Regions from separate parts of the Homo sapiens genome. Here region 2 is linked to region 1. The links are contacts of gene promoters, found by promoter capture Hi-C in human tissues and cell types (Jung and others, 2019). All regions are on one chromosome and are shown on one strand. The core of a region is centred on a gene start or on the middle of the fragment in contact, and the rest is flanking DNA. Distances in the headings are between cores, read along the strand shown. Region 1 holds the start of SPSB1 (splA/ryanodine receptor domain and SOCS box containing 1). Region 2 overlaps SLC25A33 (solute carrier family 25 member 33).

Region 1 (5,181 bases), core at 1,535-4,034:
GAGGGCAGCGCTGGCTTCCACGGGCTAGGCCCCCACCCCATTCCCCAGCTCTGGTGAAGAAATTCAACATCTGTGATGATTCCAAGGGGGTGAGATTCTGCAGCAGCCCAGAGGGACCCACTGAAGGGTGGATCCAGCCTTACTACAGCAGCCCAAGAAACGGCCTCACCCAGCTCCAAAGTGACATCACCAGGGCCCCAGGCAGGCCCACCCCTTCCTAAGAGCCCTGAAACCCACTGATTCTTCCCAGGGCCAGGTCTCTCTTAAGCCGGCATGGCACCCGCCTTGCTCCCTGCTCGGGGCTGTCTGAGCCACTGGGGCCAACATGCTACTGCTTTTGTTTTCTCTGCTGCTAGGGTGGTAGCCAGACTGGAAAAGGAAGACTTGTAAAGTGATTGCCTTAGTCCACTCCACACCTCCCCAACCGCACGCGCGCACACACACACACACACACACACACTCACACTCTCACACACACACACACACTCCATCTACTGGGTAAAGTGCTCCCTGCAGAAGAAAAGCAGCTGTAAGAGAGCAGGAGTGCTTTAAATGATCTAATCCAGCCCATCACTTCACAGCTGGGGAGACACGAAGTGCCTGGCCCATGACCTCAGTGCTGGGGACAGTAACCAAGAGCAACAGTTTCAGGACTGGGGAGTCTTGGTCCACAGCCCTGGCTGTGCAGTCTGGGTAAGTGAACCGCCCTCTCTGGGCCTCTCTAGGACAGGCTGGCCTAGACAGTAAGACAGGACTTCCCTGACTCCAAAATTCCTCAGTGTGGAGAGACCACCTGTGCTGCCCATGCTTAGCCCAGGGCTTTCCACCACTGGGAGGGGGGTCTGAGGAGGGGGACAGGGCAGAAGGGAGAGGCCCCCATCCCCTTCCTTGCTTGCTGTTCTCCTCACACCCCACGATGAGAAATGAAGTTGTGGGCCCAGCCCCCCCAACGAGAAAATTCTTCCAAGGACATCAAACCTTAGTCACCAGGGATGGCGCTTTTACCATGAACACCTGTTAAAACTCAACTCATGACCAGTTTCTGATGCTACAGACTGGAGTGTTTAATTAAATATTACTCACTCAGGAAGCAGCCCCTGCCAACTCACCCCCAAACTGTGTAGTTCATTTTCAGAGAAATGGAGAGAGGAAGAGCCTGCGCTCTCCTCGGGGGCACCAGCAGGGCTTGCCTAGTGGGGTGTCTGTGGCCCAGCATGCCCGGCTATCCAGAACCAAGTAAAGAAATCACCATGAGGAGCAGTACCTAGGAACCAGAGGGCCCCCTGGATGGTCCCCACACACACTCACAGAGAAACACACACAAAGACACACAGACACACACTTGGAGACACACAGACACTCACACATACACAGACGCACTCAGAGACACAGACACAGAGACAGACACAGAGACACGTGTGGACACACAAAGAGACACAAAGACACACACACGCAAAGACACACACAGACACAAAGACACAGAGACACACATTTGCAGAGACAGACACTCAGAGACACAAACTTGCAGAGACACACACCCAAAGACACATACACACTCACACACAGACACACACAAAGACACACAGACATACACAGAGAGGCACACACAAATACACAAAGACGCACTCAGACACACACACACACACACAGTCACTTAGAGTCTCAGGCACACATTGACAGACACACAGACTCACACACACACTCAGAGGCACATAAATACACAGATGCACTTAGAGACACACTCACACACACACCCACATGAACACACAGACACACTCATACGCAGGCACATATTCACAAGGACATGCACAAACACACACGCAGATGCACTCTCAGAGACACCCGCTCTTCCTGCAGACCCGCACCCTCCTCTCGGGGCCGTCCCGTCCTCACCGGAACCTGGACGCCACCGAGCCCAGTACACGCCCGGGGACGGTGACCCATCCGCGGTTCCTCCCGCGGGCCCAGGCCGCCCTTGTTTTTCTGATTTAATCGATTTCCTGACAACCCTCCGGCTCTCCCTCCGCTGCTGGGAGAAGCCGCGGCGGCTCCGGGGCGGCGGGGAGGGCGGCGCTCGGGTGTCCCCGGCAGGCTCCCTGGGGGAGGCGCTGCGGGAGGGTGGGGGCGCCCCGACGGGGGACCGGGCCGCGCCGCCAATCCCGACTCGGACTGGCGGGAAAAGCGAAACTAACTCAGCCGAGCGGGGTCCCGCTTTCCCCGGGCTAAAGGGGGGACGGGTCGGCGGCCCCGGAGCGCCCCAGCCCCTCCTCGGGACCGCAACTCGTTGCGACGGTCCCCGCGCCCCGAGACCCCCGCCGCGCCTCGCCCCGGGACCCCCTGCCCTGCAGCGGCGGCAGCGCGGGGCGGGCCTGGGCCCCTCTCCCAGGAGCCGCGGCGAGGGAGGCGCCCCCGGAGCCACCGCGGGAGGGGCCGCGCCCCGAGTCCCCATCCCGTACTCCACCCGCTCCCCCGCGCCCGGCCCCGCGCCACCCACTCGGTCCCCCAGCGGCGCGATCCCCGCGTCCGCCCTCGCCCGGCCCCCCGCGCCTCCCCCTCCCGGGCCGGTCGCCCACCCATCGGGGTCCCAGGTGCCCCGCGCCGCCTACCGCGCCCGGGGTGCCGCCGCCGCCGCTGCTCTCCAAGGCCGAGGAGGCTCGGGCGCCCGGGCCGCGCCCGCCGCAGGGAGCGAAGTCGCCTCCTCCCCGCGGCCCCGGCCCCGGCGCCGGCGCCTGGAGCCTGGTTCCTGCTGCGAGCGCGCAGGCTGCCCGAGCGCGACTTCTGTGCGGAGGAGAAAAAGCAACCGACGGCTTTAAAGTGAAAAAAAAGAGAAAAGCGCCGGTGGGCGGGGCCGTCCCTGCCCCGCCCCGCCCCGCCCCGCCCCCGACCTCGGGCGCACGGACCACTCAGCACTGCAGGGAAGGCCGGGGGCGCGGGGCGCGGGGCGCGGGGCGCGTCAGCCCGGCGCTGGTTCGGCCGCCCCCTCCGCCCCCTTAGTCCGCAGCCCTCTCCCGAGCCGCCGCCCTGGTGTTGCCGGCCCGAAGCTCGGGTCCCTCCGGAGGCGTCTTTGGGAAACGCGTGGCGCAGGGCCTGGGTTGCAGCCGTGGGAGGCTGGAGTGGGGGCGGGGGTCTTACGAGAAGGAGAAATCTTCGCGGAGAGTGGGGTTGTCCCAGGAACCCCGAGCAAGGCCTCGCCGGCCTCCTCTGAAGTGCCCAGCGGGGACGAGTGGGCAGCCGCCGGGGGTCCAGGGAGCCTCCTGCAGCGCTGTTTCGGCCGCTCGCGTTTCGGTGCCCACGGGGACGGGGGCCTCGGACCTCGAGACCCTGAGGGCGCGGGCACCTGGCATCCGCAGGGCTGCTCCCTGAACAGGTCCCAGCCTCTGGGGACTTGTCCTGTGGCTCTAGCTCGTTCAAGGAATTTTCCTCCCCCTTCCCCGAACAGAGCAGTCACTTGGGACTGGGAAGATTTTAAAGACTTTGCTGTTTTGAGAGCAAAATCTCCTGGCATTCCCCACCCCTCGCTGTGTAGTGTCCATTGAAAACGGTGAGGAGTTAGCCTTTCTGGGGGAGCCGAAACAAATAGCGGGGCTTCCGTAGTTACTGTGTCTTTACCATAACCCAGTACAGTGAGGGTGGGACTAATGACACACTCACTGTAAAGGCGAGGAAACAGTGCCTGGCCCGAGGCCAGCTGTCCAGAGCTTGGAACCCAATTGAACTGTGAGATTACAAAGTTTGATGTCTCTCATTTTACGGTGCTGAAAATCAGTTTGGTTTAGCTTTGTTTGAACTCAGAATAGGATTACGGAGACTCAACCAACTGCCCTGGGCTGGGCGGGCCTGAGTGGGCATTCTGACTTTCCAGGTGCCAGCGGTTTAGGAATGTTGAACCCAGACTAGTCAGGTGGGCAGCCATGGCCAGCAGCTTAGGGGTGCTTCCCATTTAAAAGATCACTTGAGGCTGGAGGTGGTGGCTCTCACGCCCTTAATCCCCACACTTTGGGTGGCTGAGGCAGGCAGATCACTTAAGCCCAGGAGTTCAAGAGCAGCCCGGGCAACAGAGCAAGACACAGACTCTGCACAAAAATTAAATAATAATAATAATAATTGGCCGGGCATGATGGCTCACACCTGTAATCCCAGCGCTTTGGGAGGCTGAGGCAGGTGGATCACCTGAGGTCAGAAGTTCAGGACCAGGCTGGGCTTGGTGGCTCACACCTGTAATCCCAGCACTTTGGGAGGTCGAGGCGGGCGGATCACGAGGTCAGGAGATGGAGACCATCCTGGCTAACACGATGAAACCCGTCACTACTACAAATATAAAAAATTAGCCAGGCGTGGTGGCGGGCATCTGTAAGTCCCAGCTACTTGGGAGGCTGAGGCAGGAGAATGGTGTGAACCCGGGAGGCAGAGATTGCAGTGAGCCGAGATTGCGCCACTGCACTCCAGCCCAGGTGACAGAGCGAGACTCCGTCTCACAAAAAAAAAAAAAAAAAAAAAAAAAGAAGTTCAGGACCAGCCTGGCCAACATGGCAACACTCCATCTCTACTGAAAATGCAAAAATTAGCTGGGTGTGGTGGTACGTGCCTGCGATCCCAGCTACTCGGGAGGCTGAGGCAGGAGAATCTCTTGAACCCAGGAGGCAGAGGTTGCAGTGAGCCGACATCGCACCACTGCACTCCAGCCTGGGCAACAGAGCGAGACTCCATCTCAAAAAAAAAGAAAAAAAAGGTAATAATAATTTTAAAAGAGCATATGACCCCCTCCAGCCACTCTGCAGTTTGAGAACTGTTGTTTACTTGGGAGACTGGTGAGAGCCTCTGGGACAGGCCCATGGGGTGCAGCCCACGTCAGTCATTGCTGAAAATCACAGCTGCCTCTGATGGGTTCATTTCTCCTTGGGAGAGTAGCCCTGTTTGGTGGATTATTCACTGTGTGTGTGGCATCTACCAGACACTGGCATCTCATGGGGCTGGTGCTACGGCCACGTGGCCTGGGGCCATGGTGTTGTCAGCTTTGCTAAGAGGAACTCCACCAAGCCTCACCTCTTAACATCTGGGAAGCTTCCAGGGCAGACTGGGGCACTTTGGAGCTAGAGACCCAGCTTTGATGTTTAAGGCCCTGAAAGACAGTTCCTGATGAAAAGTCTTCAGCACCCCCACCCCACCCCCCTTCGGCGTTAA
Region 2 (5,181 bases), core at 1,492-3,991, 270 kb before region 1:
ACCAAAACCTGCCACAGGCACGTTCAGGAAGCTCCTGTGTGTCCCTCCAGAAATGATTTAGTGGTGACAGAGGTGTTCAAAAATAATTGAGGAAAGTGAGATTTGGGGAAGACATCTACAAAGTCCTTTTACATTCTTCGTTCTGGATAAATGCTAATCCTTTAAGCTTCAACACATTGGAAGTTTTAATTTTTTTTTTTGTTTCTAGAATAGACCACACTTTTTCACCCTGTGCCAAAATGAGAATGTCAAACATAATTTGAACTGTTTTTGGGTGACTCGGGAACACACAGGAACAGCCATCATATCATACCTGTGTTTTCATAAAGGGCCCTTCCGCCACCCCCTGCCTTGACTACCGCAAAGTGGTCCCGTCACCCTTGTTTTCTCTTCACTTTTCCCCCTGCTGTCTTCCCTCTTGTTGGGGCTGGGAAATAGGAGCTACTTGGGATTTTTCCTGCTCTTTCACCAGCAATGCAGGGAAAATGTTTCTTTCTTCTGCTGGTCAATGAATCAATCATAGAATATATTTTGCAGTTTAGGATCTTAACTACTTATCATTGTTGTGTTTTAAAAGTCTTCCATTTCCCCTAATGGGTGAGGCAGTCAGGAATCTGCATCAGGTTACCAGGGTTACACTGTAGGAGCATTGCCTGTGAGCAGCGAGGGCTCTTCTCACTTTATTTACTACAGATGGGCAGTAGGTTTCCCATCTATGAATAAGGCACACCCCAGATCATCTCACAGACTAGTACTTTCTGTCTTTAAATACATCACACATACTTGCTACAAAATTCTAAAGGAACAAAAGCAGTAAAAAAGTCTGCCTTTTCATAACATCCCCAGGTGATCTGTGTTTTTTTTTTTTTTGAGATGGAGTTCTCGCTCTGTCACCCAGGCTGGAGTGCAGTGGCGTGACCTGGGCTCACTGCAACCTCCACCTCCTGGGTTCAAGCCATTCTCCTGCCTCAGCCTCCCGAGCAGCTGGGATTACAGATGCATGTCACCACGCCTGGCTAATTTTTGTATTTTTGTAGAGATGGGGTTTCACTATGTTGGCCATGCTGGTCTCAAACTCCTGACCTCAAGTAATCCGCCTGCCTCGGCCTCCCAAAGTGCAGGGATTATAGGTGTGGGCTACTGCGCCCAGCCGATTTATGTTTAAATTGGAGCACTGATCTGGAAGAATTCTATAAGCTTTTGGTCTTCACCCTATATAAGACAACATTCTCATTTTTGTTGTAAGACTTCATTTTCTCTTTTTTTTTTTGAGACAGAGTCTCGCTCTGTCGCCCAGGCTGGAGTGCAGCGATCTCAGCTCACTGCAAGCTCCGCCTCCCGGGTTCATGCCATTCTCCTGCCTTAGCCTCCTGAGTAGTTGGGACTACAGGTGCCAGCCATCACGCCCGGCTAGTTTTTTGTATTTTTAGTAGAGACGGGGTTTCACCGCGTTAGCCAGGATGGTCTCGATCTCCTGACCCCGTGATCCCCCGGCCTCGGCCTCCCAAAGTGCTGGGATTACAGGCGTGAGCCACCGCACCCGGCCAGACTTCATTTTCTTTCAAGTCTCTTGGAGTATGACAAGTTAAGTGTCCTGCCCTGCCACCCAGTTCCCTTCTCAGGAGGTCCTTTCTGGAAGAAGTTTTTTTGTTTTGTTTTGTTTTTTCTTTTTGAGATGGAGTTTCACTCTTTCACCCAGGCTGCAGTGAAGCGGCATGATCTCAGCTCACTGCAACCTCTGCCTCCCACTGGGTTCAAGCAATTCTCCTGCCTCAGCCTCCAGAGTAGGTGGGATTACAGGTGCCTGCCACCATGCCTGGCTGATTTTTCATTTTTAGTAGAGATGGGGTTTCGCCAAGTTGGCCAGGCTGGTCTCCAATTCCTGACCTCTGGTGATCCACCTGCCTCAGCCTCCCAAAGTGCTGGGATTACACAGGTGAGCCACCACAGCCGGCCTGGAAGCAGTTTTTAATCTACTTTCCAGATATGCTATTCTCTATCTGTCTCTGTTACTTTTACAATCATACACTGTTATCCTCTCTATCCTATCTATCCAAGAGAACTTTCTGCCAAGATAGGATGCCCTGTATCTCTGCTCTTCAATACAGTAGCCATTAGCTGCATGTGGAGATTGAGTGCTTGAAACATGAAGACTGAGCAACTGAACCTTTAATTCTGATTAATTTACATTTAAACTGCTCCATGTGGCCAGTGACTACCCTTATGTACTGGGACAGTACAGTTCTGTATATTTCAAACAGGCTTTCAGGAGAAGCCCTGCAAAGATATGAGGATGTCATTTTACAGAAAGTGAAGTTAAAAGCCTTTACAATTCCTCTGGATCAGTGTTTCTAACTGCGTTGGAGTCACCTGGGGGTTCTGTTAAAATGCAGATTCTGATGTAGGTCTGGGATGTGCCCTGGGATTGTGTGTTTATAACAAGCTCTCATACAATACTAATGCTGCTGGCCACATGCCATACTTAGAGTAGCAAACACTTAAAGTACATTACAGTAATGATAGCAGATTAATTTTCACACTTAAGAATATAAAGAATACAGTAAGTAGAATCCTTTCTTTCACACACTGAAGACACGCCTAGCATTCTCAATGACTATTTGCTATGTCCGCTATATTTAGGCAAATCCAACATAGAAAAAGACACTGGTCATTCAGCAGCATCACCCTTTGGTAAGAAAGGACCCAGAATTCCATACTGCTTAGCATGAGCTAGCTGGAAAGTTTAATGCTTACCTTGATGGTGCAACTCCAACCAAATTTGGACCCAAGCCTCTAAAAAGTGACTTTGGTCCCTCTTTCTCCAAGATCGACCTGAATAATAAGAAAAGACAAACCTTTAAAACCCCTCAGGCAAGGCCTATTAAAAATGATAAAGAGTCAACCTTCTCATTAGTTCCTTGAGAGAATAAAATGTTTGAGAGATGTCAAGCTCGACTCTTATCTGATTTGGTTACAATACAGAATCGGAAGGCTGTAGAATACTGCTATCATTAGCACAGTGAAAAAACATGCCTCAAAAAGCATCAGTTAGACATATTTTCTTTCTCTCCCTTTTTTTTTTCTTTTTGAGATGGAGTCTCGCTCTGTTGCCCAGGCTGGAGTGCAGTAACATGATCTCGGCTCACTGGAACCTCTGCCTCCTGGGTTCTAGCAATTCTCCTGCCTCAGCCTCCCAAGTAGCTGGGATTACAGGCACTCACCACCACACCCAGCTAATTTTGTATTTTTATTTATTTATTATTATTATTTAGACGGAGTTTCACTCTTGTTGCCCAGGCTGGAGTGCAATGGCGTGATCTCGGCTCACTGCAACTTCCGCCCCCCAGGTTGAAGCGTTTCTCCTACCTCAGCCTCCCGAGTAACTGGGATTAAAGGCATGCACCACCACGCTCAGCTAACTTTATATTTTTAGTAGAGATGGGGTTTCTCCATGCTGGTCAGGCTGGTCTTGAACTCCTCACCTCAGGTGATCTGCCCGCCTCAGCCTCACAAAGTGCTGGGATTACAGGCATGAGCCACCACACCCGGCCCAACACAGGAGGAAGCTGTGCAGAGTCTGTACTATACAATGAAATCCTGTGAAAGCAGGATGAGTATCTGGCAGAGGGTGCCACACAGGGAATAATTTCCTCATCATAATAAGATTCACTGAGAAACAGGTTCAGAGATTTCTTTTGGATTTACTGCTTCTAACAATCCTATCTTCTAGATCTTTACCTAATGTAGTAGAATCTTATACAGGGATATAAAGAATAGAGCCAGCTCAGTGCTCATACCTGTAATCCCAGCATTTTGGGAGGTCCAGGTAGGAGGATCACTTGAACCCAGGAGTTCCAGACCAGCCTGAGCAACACAGTATAAACCCCATCTATACAAAAAATGAAAAATATTAGCCAGGTGTGGTGGTGTGTGCCTGTGGTCCCAGCTACTCAGGAGGCTGAGGTAAGAGGATCACTTAGCCTGGGAGGTCAAGGCTGCAGTGAGCCATGATCATGCCACTGCACTCCAGCTTTAGCGACAGAAAGAGACCCCTTGTCTCAAAAATTAAAAACAAAAAAAAAGTTGGCGGGGGAGGGCAGAATTTAAGGAATAGAAAACTAATAATTTTCATGGACGGATGACGGTTATTTAAAACCAAAGCCTAGTATCTCAAGTCCAAAGATTATACCGTGACTGCTTTTCGTTTTTCATTTTCTTTTCTTTGTTTTTTTTTTTTTGAGACAGAGTCTCACTCTGTCACCCAGGCTGGAATGCAGTGGTGCAATCTTGGCTCACTGCAAGCTCCGCCTCCCAGGTTCACACCATTCTCCTGCCTCAGCCCCCCGAGCAGCTGGGACTACAGGCACCCGCCACCACGCCCGGCTAATTTTTTGTATTTTTAGTAAAGACGGGGTTTCACTGCATTAGCCAGGATGGTCTCAATCTCCCGACCTGATGATCCGCCTGCCTTGGCCTCCCAAAGTGCTGGGATTATAGGCGTGAGCCAATGCACCCAGCCAACTGCTTTAATTTTAAACTTTTTTTTTTGTGATGACATACACATAATAGAAAATCTACCATTGTAACCTTTTTTTTTTCTGAGACAGAGTCTCGCTCTGTTGCCCAGGCTGGAGTGCAGTGGCATGATCTCAGCTCACTGCAAGCTCCGCCTCCCAGGTTCATGCCATTCTCCTGCCTCAGCCTACCAAGTAGCTGGGACTACAGGCACCCACCACCACGCCCAGCTAATTTTTTGTATTTTTAGTAGACACAGGGTTTCACTGTGTTAGCCAGGATGGTCTTGAACTCCTGACCTCGTGATCCACCCACCTAGGCCTCCCAAAGTGCTGGGATTACAGGCGAGAGCCACATTGTAACCATTTTTAAGTGTACAGTTGAGTGACATTAAGTACATCCACACTGTTGTGCAACCATCACCACCATCTACCTCCAGAACCTTTTCATCTTTTCAAACTGAACTTTTGCACTCATTAAGCACCAGCTCCCTAGCCCTCCCTCCCGTCAGGCCCTGGCAGTCACCATTCTACTGTCTCTAATCTGACAACTCTAGGTATCTCTTATCAGTGGCGTCACATCTTTTTTTGTGACTGGCTTATTTCACTCAGTCTTTGAGGTTCATCCATGTTGTAGCATGTGTCACAATTTCCTTCTTTTTATTTT

The links. Contacts are between HindIII fragments. The study calls those that stand out against the background at their distance.
Region 2: a fragment that was not itself captured here is called in contact with the fragment with the promoter of SPSB1 in region 1 in 1 of the 25 tissues and cell types used here (pancreas).

What each region holds. Positions count from the first base shown.
Region 1 is chr1:9,290,497-9,295,677 of GRCh38, reverse strand. SPSB1 (splA/ryanodine receptor domain and SOCS box containing 1) reads right to left here and starts at 2,784. Exons shown (of 3, transcript NM_025106.4): 1 at 2,607-2,784. RefSeq lists silencers at 1,850-2,139, 2,680-2,749, 2,820-2,899, 2,950-3,119. The HindIII fragment of the contact is 10,751 bases long and covers 1-5,181 here.
Region 2 is chr1:9,564,935-9,570,115 of GRCh38, reverse strand. It overlaps SLC25A33 (solute carrier family 25 member 33), which reads right to left. Exons shown (of 7, transcript NM_032315.3): 3 at 2,755-2,832. Among named protein-coding and RNA genes, the nearest start is that of TMEM201, 21 kb to the left of the region's middle. The HindIII fragment of the contact is 4,117 bases long and covers 683-4,799 here.